Regions from separate parts of the Homo sapiens genome. Here region 2 is linked to region 1. The links are contacts of gene promoters, found by promoter capture Hi-C in blood cells and fetal thymus (Javierre and others, 2016). All regions are on one chromosome and are shown on one strand. Each heading gives the region's core, a stretch centred on a gene start or on the middle of the fragment in contact. The rest is flanking DNA. Distances are from core to core; before and after follow the strand shown. Region 1 holds the start of MAP10 (microtubule associated protein 10). Region 2 overlaps DISC1 (DISC1 scaffold protein).

Region 1 (4,445 bases), core at 1,390-3,889:
TACTGCTATCCAGGACATTAAGTTCGGACACATTTGAAGGCAGGTAAGAACTCACCTGGGATGTTTGTGGTGACTGGCTTTTTTCTAAAGATTTCCAACTACTTCTTGTTTTAACAGAGATGTCTTGAGCTCTCTTTGTAATTTCAGAATTGTGCATACTATTTTGATCTATCTGGTTTTCTTTTTGTTCAGTCCAATGTGTTGAAGATAAATCACTAGCAGAGATACTAGATGCTTCCTCCAAACTTTTATCCTGAGTCTTTGAAATATGAAATTTTCTGTATGAGTGTACAGGTGACCCGGCTGAAAAAGGTGGGCTAAGGATAGAACTCCTGTCACTACTATTTTTCTTTTTGGACACTCCTGTGTCACTAGACTTGCTTGTATATTGACTATGTTTTGGATTTTCTGTCCTTGAACTGCTATCATGAGCTTTGAAACTTCTGCTGGTGTCCTCACTGGTACAGAAATCTTCAGAATAGCAAGGGCTAGACAAATCATCTGAATACTTCAGTTCTGAGATGTTTTCATAGCAACTATTTTTACCTGTTCTCTTGTCACTTATATCAGCCATAAGAATGTCATTATCTGTGGTTTTGACCTGTCTAATATCTATTTCCTTATCTACAATTCTGTCAACAACAGCATCCTGTTGGAAAACACATGGACTTTGGATTTTCATTTCCACATTTCCTCCCAGAATATTTGTAGGGGTAAGCCTTTCTGGAATAATGGAATTTGCAGGACTCACAACTTCTTCCAATGAAACATTATTGATTCTATTTTTACTACAATCAACTGTCTTTTTTTCAGTTGCATATTTCAGTTTAGTTTCTTTACTTGTGCTGGGCTCATCAAAAACTCCACTGATTTGTCTTGAGGTATCACTATTTTCAGTGAAAGATGCATCTGAATCTAAATACTTATCTTCAGGCAGTTGTGGCTTCTGACTTTGTTCTGCAGAGCTTAATAGTTTAACTTTGGATGACGGAATTCTGAATTTTGTACCCAACATTTGTGATTGTCTTTTTCTATATAGTTCTCTTTTTTCATGTACCACCAACATATCAGGATTTGTCAGCTTTAAACGTAGTCTTAGTGTATTTGTTAAGCCATAAAGTAGCCTCCCTTTTGGAACTCTTTTATGGAGGGCACCACTGCTCTTTTCAGAATATTTATCTTCCTTATAGTTTTCAATTTGGTTCTTTTTATACTGAAGACTCACTGACTTTTCACATCCCCCCACAGAACGCTTATCCTTCTTGGCTTCAGACCGGCATGTGGATTTGGCAGAAGATTCGGGTGACTTCTTATCCTCAGTCCTATATAACCAGGCTAGGTGAGGATGTATATGAGCAGGACTTGTCACAGGTTGGTCATATAACAAGGACAACTCAACTAACAAAGCATTTAACAAAGGCAACTGCCTTATTGTATTAATTCGATTTTGTTCAGTTTGACATGTTTGATTAGTTGCTCCTATATTCTGAATATGTGGAGGATTTACAAGCATTGGAGGATGTTCGTGTGCTGCAGAACTTGGATGCTTTAGACAACTCCTGTGTGCTGGGGGATTTACACGCTTTTTTTCAGGAGAAGCATCATCCATTTCCTCAGGTGCATTCATTTGAGGCTCAATGGTGATTTTAGCCTGTGCAGGGGGCGGTTTTTCTTGGGTCAAGTTAGTGTAATACAAAGGAGGAGGGCAAAATATATTGGTCTCCATGTCCAATTCTGTGACTTCCTCATTTAGGGAGCTAACATTTCTCCCATTGCCAGCACCTGAACATGTAACAACAGAATTGGTTTTGCCATTCTCCACAGAACCCACATTATCACATTCGGCCTTACTTTTAACCATTTCCTTCAAATCCTTCTGTGCCTCTGGGATTTCTAACTCCCCCAGCGGCTTATCAGCCTCTTTTGGGCTTGGCTGTGAGGCTGGCTGCTGCAGCTGCTGTCTTTCCTGCTGGGTTTGGGGACTGACCTCCGCTCCTCCTCCTGTGCGGGTGAAGGTGAGGGGCCGCTCAAGTTGGCTCAGCAGGCGGCTTCCCAGGTCAGTCAGGCGGTAGGCCAGTGCAATGTCCCCAGTCCGCTCGCCCACTCGATTATGCAGGGGGAAACGTCCCCGGTGACGGTGGGAGCATCCGGAGGCGGCCGGCCCCACGACCCTGTGCGCTGCGGTGGCCAGCGAAATGTCGCAGGCCCCCAGGAGCTGTGGGGTGGGCGTCGGGCGCCCAGGGGGCAGCTGCAGCAGCAAGGTGGCAAGCGGGGTCCGCAGGAGCCGGCAGTGCAGGGTAGCAGGCTGCAGGCGGAAGAGGCAGGACTTGCCGCGACCGAAGCGGATGACACCGGGCCACGGTTCGGCGGCGGGAGCGCCGGGGCCGTCAGGAGGGTAAACCAACAGCGTGGGGAAGTCCAGCAGGCGGAAGGCCACGGCGGGGCACAGACCGCGCGGCGACGAGGCCTCCCCCTGCTCCTTTTCCTCCTCTTCCTCCTCCTGCTCCACTGCGGCAGCGGGGGACGGCAGCAGCCGGGCTTCCAAACGCACCCAGTCCACCAGCAGCTCCAGCGAGAAGAGCCGCTCGGACAGCGAGGCCGCCATTGCTGTTGCCCCAGGAAACGCCGCCGCGGGCTCCGCAAACGAGAAGCTGAAGCCCCGGGGTCTCACGAGAAACCGGAGCAAAAGGCATCGCTGCCTGCTATCTCGCGAGATTTGCGGAAGCGCTCCAGCGGGTCTCGGGCGGTGTCTGCTTTGGGGGTTTTGCTGCTCAATGTGTTTGGCCCCTTTGTATGCATACTTGTGAGCCGTTTTTTGCCACCAACCTTGTATTAAGACAATTGATGATAATGCTGAGGATATAAGTGGTAAAAGACAGTGAGTTTTTTGGGTAATGGTTTTATCACTGCAGATCTTATGTAACTTGGGGGTCAGATCAATATACCTGAGGAATATTGAAAGAAAATCAGGACTCTCCTTCCTTTCCCATGCTAAACAGAGCCAGTTAGTTAACTGTCCACAGTGGGCCATCTCTGTGTCTGCTGTTCTACCCAAAAGATGGTGACACTGCTGGGATGGCCAGGGAGCCCCTGCCTCATCAATTACAGTAGTACTGAGACAGACACACCACACACACACGGAGTGTGAATACACTGGCAAAAACTCTCCTTGGCTGAACTTTGGTCAGGCTCATCTAAGCCTTCTTTCCGACTAGGCCTTGACCTTGGCTTCCAATCCTGTGGACCCTGGATCACCGAGTTGTAGCAAAGGTCTCGCTACGGCTGTTGAGAGAGAACCCCCAACCCTTCATACCTGATTACCGTCGATACCTGATCAAATTCTTCATTTTCTATCATTGGTATCTGACCACCCTGGCCTGGCTTCAGCAAGAATCCTATTAGGCCTGCTTAATCAGAACCCTCCCACCCGTGATGTTCCCTATCAGTAAGTTTCCATCCACTTGACCTGACGCCCCCTTGGCTTTAAATCCCCACTTGTCCATGCTGTAATTGGAATTGAGCCCAGCTCTGTATTGAGGTCTCTTTTCTCTTATTGCAGTAGTTCCTGACTACAGTGTTTTTGCCACTTCAACTACTGTCTGGCCCTGTTTTTTATTTGACAACATTTCCAGCTAAGCAATCATGATGCATGAGAGTAATGTTAATGATTCCATCAATAAAACAAATGTGTGTACATAAATATACACACATCTACAGAGACACACAGAACTTGCTGCTCTATCCAGATATTTTAAGAAACATACTCCTAACCTCAATGAGCTAGCCAGCTAGGAATCCAAGGCCAGTTTTTGGAGAGCCTTGAATGCCATGGTAAAGAATTTGGACTATATTCTGTCCAAATTTTTTTGATTGAATAAGTACATCATAGCAATATTTGGAAATGTATCATGGGGAGGAATACAAAGGATGGATTCTACTAATTAGAAATTGGATTCAGAGCAATCTATTAGAAGACTACTGCAGTGGTCTAAGAGGCAGATAATTATGACCTGCACATGGTCAGGACTAGTGGAAATTAAAAAGAGGTGGCAGAAGAGGCATTTGTGATGGAGGAATTTTAAAATTTGGTGAATGGGAAAGAAAAGTCATGGGTGAAAAACTTCTGCTACTGAAGGTGAAAATATTGAGGAGGCACAGATTTGACGGAAAAAAATACTTTGAGTTTTGAGATATGTAAAGCTTGAGGTACCTGCTGCTGGGCATTATATATGTACCGCTTTATTCAGCTTTATAAATTATAGTTAAATTATATTGCTTCAGTGCTCAGAAGAACATTGTGAAGCTCAAGAGAAATTCAGAACTGGAGGGATATGATGCTTTAGTGTGAAGACGTGAGAGAGAAGTCTCATTGCAATATATAAATACAAGATACTTCTCGGACCAGATGCGGTGGCTCACGCCTGTAATCCCAGCACTTTGGGAGG
Region 2 (4,445 bases), core at 1,138-3,637, 940 kb after region 1:
GAGGATGAGCAGACGGTAAGCTTTGCCACAGCGCCCTCTTGTGTTCAGAGAACCGCAATGACAACATTTCCTCGTATTAAGAAACTATCATGACTTTAATTACAGATTAATTATACCCTTTCGTCAAGGTTGAAAGAAGAATCCATACAAAGCACGACGACTAGAAAGTCGAAGACATGCTTTCTTTTCTTTTTTTCTTTTTATTGTGACATCATGTCTCTTCAATGCCCTTTCAATTAATAGTAGTTGAGCGCTGGGGGCTGAAGTCAGACTCTCTGGGTTCAAATCACAGTGCTGTGTCCTGCAGGCTGTCCTCAGGCAAGTTGCTGACTTCTCTGTGTCCAGGACTCTGCATCACAGTACTTATATCCTAAGGTAGTAGTGAACATTAAATATTAAGGACTTCGAAAGTGCCTGGAGCCTTGTAATAAGTGTTAGCTGTTGGTCATTATCATTGATGTTATTTTTTTTAATAAATCAAAGAATTGTTACATTTCTGCTTGAAGTGACTTCAGAGATAATTAAATCCAAGTTTTTCATTTTGTAGATGAGAAATCTCTGGTCCAAAGGAGCAAAGTGAACTGCCTACAGTTGCCTAATTAGTCAATGGCAGAGCTGAAACTGGAATTTAAATCTTCTGGTTCTCTAGGGCCCGGGTTTCTGTCTTTTCTGGAGAACAGCTCCCATAGGAAGCTCTTTTTGCTCTGCACGTGCAGGGGGTAGACTTGCAGGAACTTCATGCAGGGCCCTGGGGGGATGTGGGCCACTATGGGAAAGGCACTGAGCCACACACACACACCAGGCTCAGAGGTCTGGACACAGGAGTAATGAGTTGAGTAATCCCTGTCCTTTTTTGCCATGACAATGAGATCGATAATCCAAGACTTACAGAACTGGATGATGTGAACTATAGTCTGCCTAGAAATATTGGTCTTAACCACTTTCAGGAAGACTAAAATGACCACACACATATACAAAAAAGTCTAATGCTTGTAAATCTGTTTTTAGAGTACCAGATTCCTAAGCTGCCATATCTTCTGAGATAATATCCAACTCCAAAGCTGAGCTTCCAAGAGGGCCTTGTATGAATATGGAACTAAGAGGCACACTGGCTGCAGACCTGACTTCTCTCATGTACTGTTTCTGTTCATTTTCTTTTTAAAGAAAATATCGTATCACAAAAGGACAAATGTCATGTGATTCCACTTATATGAGGCACCTAAAGTAGTCAAATTCAGAGACAGAAAGTATAACAGAGGTTGCCAGAGGCTGGGGGAAGGGAGAATGAGAAGTTATTATTTAATGGGTGTGGCCAATATTGCCAAGGAAATAGACGTCAGTCTACAGATCAGTTAGTGTTTACATTTTCAAAATTCAACCTAATGTTTATTAGGCTAAAGATTATGTTATCTTGAATTAAGACTCATAATACAACAAAGGTTTAGCCTCCCATCCTGGGTGAACCTCTGGGATTTCTTAACCTCCTTTTGATTTTCTGGCATCACTGAAAGCCGACATATAAACAAACCAGTGTAACACAATCACTGCCCAATGTATTGGTGGTCTTTGGCAAACATGAAGAGTGGGCATTAACGAATGATACTAGACAGTTCTCTTCCCCTGCAAAGACATGTGGACTTCAAATAGGAAACATCAGCATACAGCAATTGTCAGACTCCCAGGTCAGCATGTTTGTTTGGAAAGAGCTCTAGAGTGAAGACCGAAAGACAGGGTTCTGGCTCCAGCTCACCTACACACTTGTCGGACCTCGGCAAATGGAGTGAGTTCTCTGGGCCTTTGCTTGCTCCTCTCTAAAACAGGGACTCAATAGGTGATCTCTAAAGTCCTTCCGTGATCATTCTGTGACCTGGGCCCAATACCGCTCCAGGTCTACCACAGCCGTGGTGTGGAGTGCTATTCATAACTACATAACTGAGAAACTTTCAAAGGAGATTTAATTGTACTAAGACTACCATGCAACCAAATAAAATAATTAGACTGCTACTTTCTCCTTCTGGAGTAATCTGATATTCAGGATGAGAGATTTAACATAGGATTTTATATATCAAAACAAAAATAAAATTGGAAGGAACAATATACAAGAATTTTTGTATAAGGAAGCCTTCTTAACATCTACCTTTCTTTTTAAACGGTCATCACGTCGTTCAGTACCAAAAAATGGTGTCCACCTCCTCAGATTTTTTTGTTGTTGTTGTTGTTTTATTTTGTTTTTGAGACGAGTCTCCCTGTCACCCAGGCTGGAGTGCAGTGGTGCGATCTTGGCTCACTGCAAGCTCTGCCTCCCGGGTTCATGTCATTCTCCTGCCTCAGCGTCCTGCGTAGCTGGGATTACAGGCGCCCACCACCACACCCAGCTAATTTTTTGTATTTTTAATAGAGACGGGGTTTCACTGTGTTAGCCAGGATGGTCTCAATCTCCTGACCTCGTGATCTGCCCACCTCGGCCTCCCAAAGTGCTGGGATTACAGGCGTGAGCCACTGCGCCCGGCCCACCCCCTCAGGTTTTCTAATGACACTACCAATATATAGAAAACAGAGGCAACGCTTATGAGCCTCTTATAACTGAATGAAAGATCAAGGTGCTTGTTATACAGACGACATATAGGGAAGCCTGATGTAGGAAAAAAAAATGAAAACTTCTAAAATTCCTTTCTGTTTTCATCTGAAAATTTGCCCTCAGAAATGAGAATAATGAAAAATTGCAAGTATCGTTTTATAAATGATGAGTTGCATGTGTTTTTATTGTTAATTTTGTGTGACGAAAACTGTTTCACTTCCAATGTTCATATACTGCTACCTGGCTATACTCTGCAAAAGGATTTATGAAAAAGATCTTCATAAAAAAAGTCTATAGTACCAGCCAGTACAGCCCTTTTGTGTGGAAAGGCACTAAACAGAACTCCCCAGTGCAAGAGCAAAGGGCATTTTTCTCTTCAGGCGACACAGTGATTTCCTCCAAGAAAAGAAGAATTGAATAACCGCTTTGATTCTGAGTTTCCGCTCATGGACTTCTGATCTACACTGGTCCTTTTCCTCCACATTGTTCCTGGAGAAACTGGCAGTAGACTAGACCTTGGCTCCAGCATCCTTTCATTCTTACGGAGATGAGAAACCAGGGACTCATTGCCCTACTTTCTTAAAAAGCCCAGGGCAAAGAAATGGATGAACTCACCTAGAGATTCTGATATTGGAAAGAAGTTGCAATCTGTCCCATGACAGTTTTATGAGAAGTTCAATCTACCCCAAGAGTCTGAAAGAACCCATATTGTGTTATTAAAAGCAATGGTTCGAATCTACCTGAATTCAACATAAAGCTATGCTTTTGTTAAAAGAATGTTTTAGGCCAGGCGCGGTGGCTCACGCATGTAATCCCAGCACTTTGGGAGGCCAAGGCAAGGAAATTGCTTGAGGCCAGGAGTTCAAGACCAGCCTGGCCAACATGGTGAAACCCCTTCTCTACTAAAAGTACAAAAATTAGCCAGGCATGGTGGCGGGTACCTGCAGTCCCAGCAACTGTGGAGGCTGAGGTGGGAAAATTGCTTAAACCTGGGAGGCAGAGACCGCAGTGAGCCAAGATCGCACCACAGCACTCCATCCCGGGCGACAGAGACCCTGTCTCAAAAAAAAAAAAAAAAAAAAAAAAAAAAAAAAGAACATTTTATAAACTATGTCAATCAAAACTAAATTCTTGTTAGTTCTATATTTTCATGGCAATGAGCCTGCAGACCCTGTGAAGGCATTACAAACTATGCACGTGCTGAAACTTGGAGCTTATCTGCAAGCTAATGAAGACATGTTGGTCTTTTATTATCCCTTTTATTACCAAAATGGGGTGACCGACTTTATTATACAAAAGCCATATAAGTCCTTTGCAGAGTCAGAGACTAACTCTGTCACTTATTTGCTATGAATGTGGGCATTTTTTACTTACATGAGCCTCGATTTCAACAAACTGAGAACAATGTCTACCTTCAAGGTGAGAAATAAACTAATATTCATAAAGTATTCCCAACTGTGCCTGACACACGAAATCTCCAGCAAACAGCAGCTGCTGCCAGCATCACATCATCACTCCATGGTGCAAGTCATTTTGAAATGATCACATGATTTGAAAATATTACCAAACTAAATGTCTTTCCAAGTGCAGCAAAGATATCCAGATGTTTCCTGGGTCACCTGAAGTCACCATTATTAACCCAATAAATGGCCAGAGACACTTAAATCCTCTCTAAGTGAAGAATGAAGAGGTCTTTCTAGTTCTGATTCTATAACATTAACTAAGGGTTGTCTGGATACCACCCTTAAGTAACAAAATATTACAAAGCAATCATACACCAGATACTTCATTTTAAGACAGAAATGGTGTCTGAAAACCAGAAGAAAAAAATTTACCAAGTTCTTTCATAAGCAGACTATTATTCTTA

Evidence for each region. Contacts are between HindIII fragments. The CHiCAGO score rates a contact against its expected background, and 5 or more counts as called.
Region 2: a contact is called between a fragment that was not itself captured here and the fragment with the promoter of MAP10 in region 1, in 2 of 17 cell types (naive CD8 T cells and naive CD4 T cells). The highest score is 5.9, in naive CD8 T cells.

What each region holds. Positions count from the first base shown.
Region 1 is chr1:232,803,610-232,808,054 of GRCh38, reverse strand. MAP10 (microtubule associated protein 10) reads right to left here and starts at 2,639. Exons shown (of 1, transcript NM_019090.3): 1 at 1-2,639. The coding sequence starts at 2,605. RefSeq lists enhancers at 1,650-2,246, 2,456-2,535, 2,247-2,844. The HindIII fragment of the contact is 4,755 bases long and covers 1-4,202 here.
Region 2 is chr1:231,862,448-231,866,892 of GRCh38, reverse strand. The region is part of intron 9 of DISC1 (DISC1 scaffold protein); the gene reads right to left. All of the region lies in intron 12 of TSNAX-DISC1 (TSNAX-DISC1 readthrough (NMD candidate)), which reads right to left. Among named protein-coding and RNA genes, the nearest start is that of DISC2, 46 kb to the right of the region's middle. The HindIII fragment of the contact is 4,730 bases long and covers 23-4,445 here.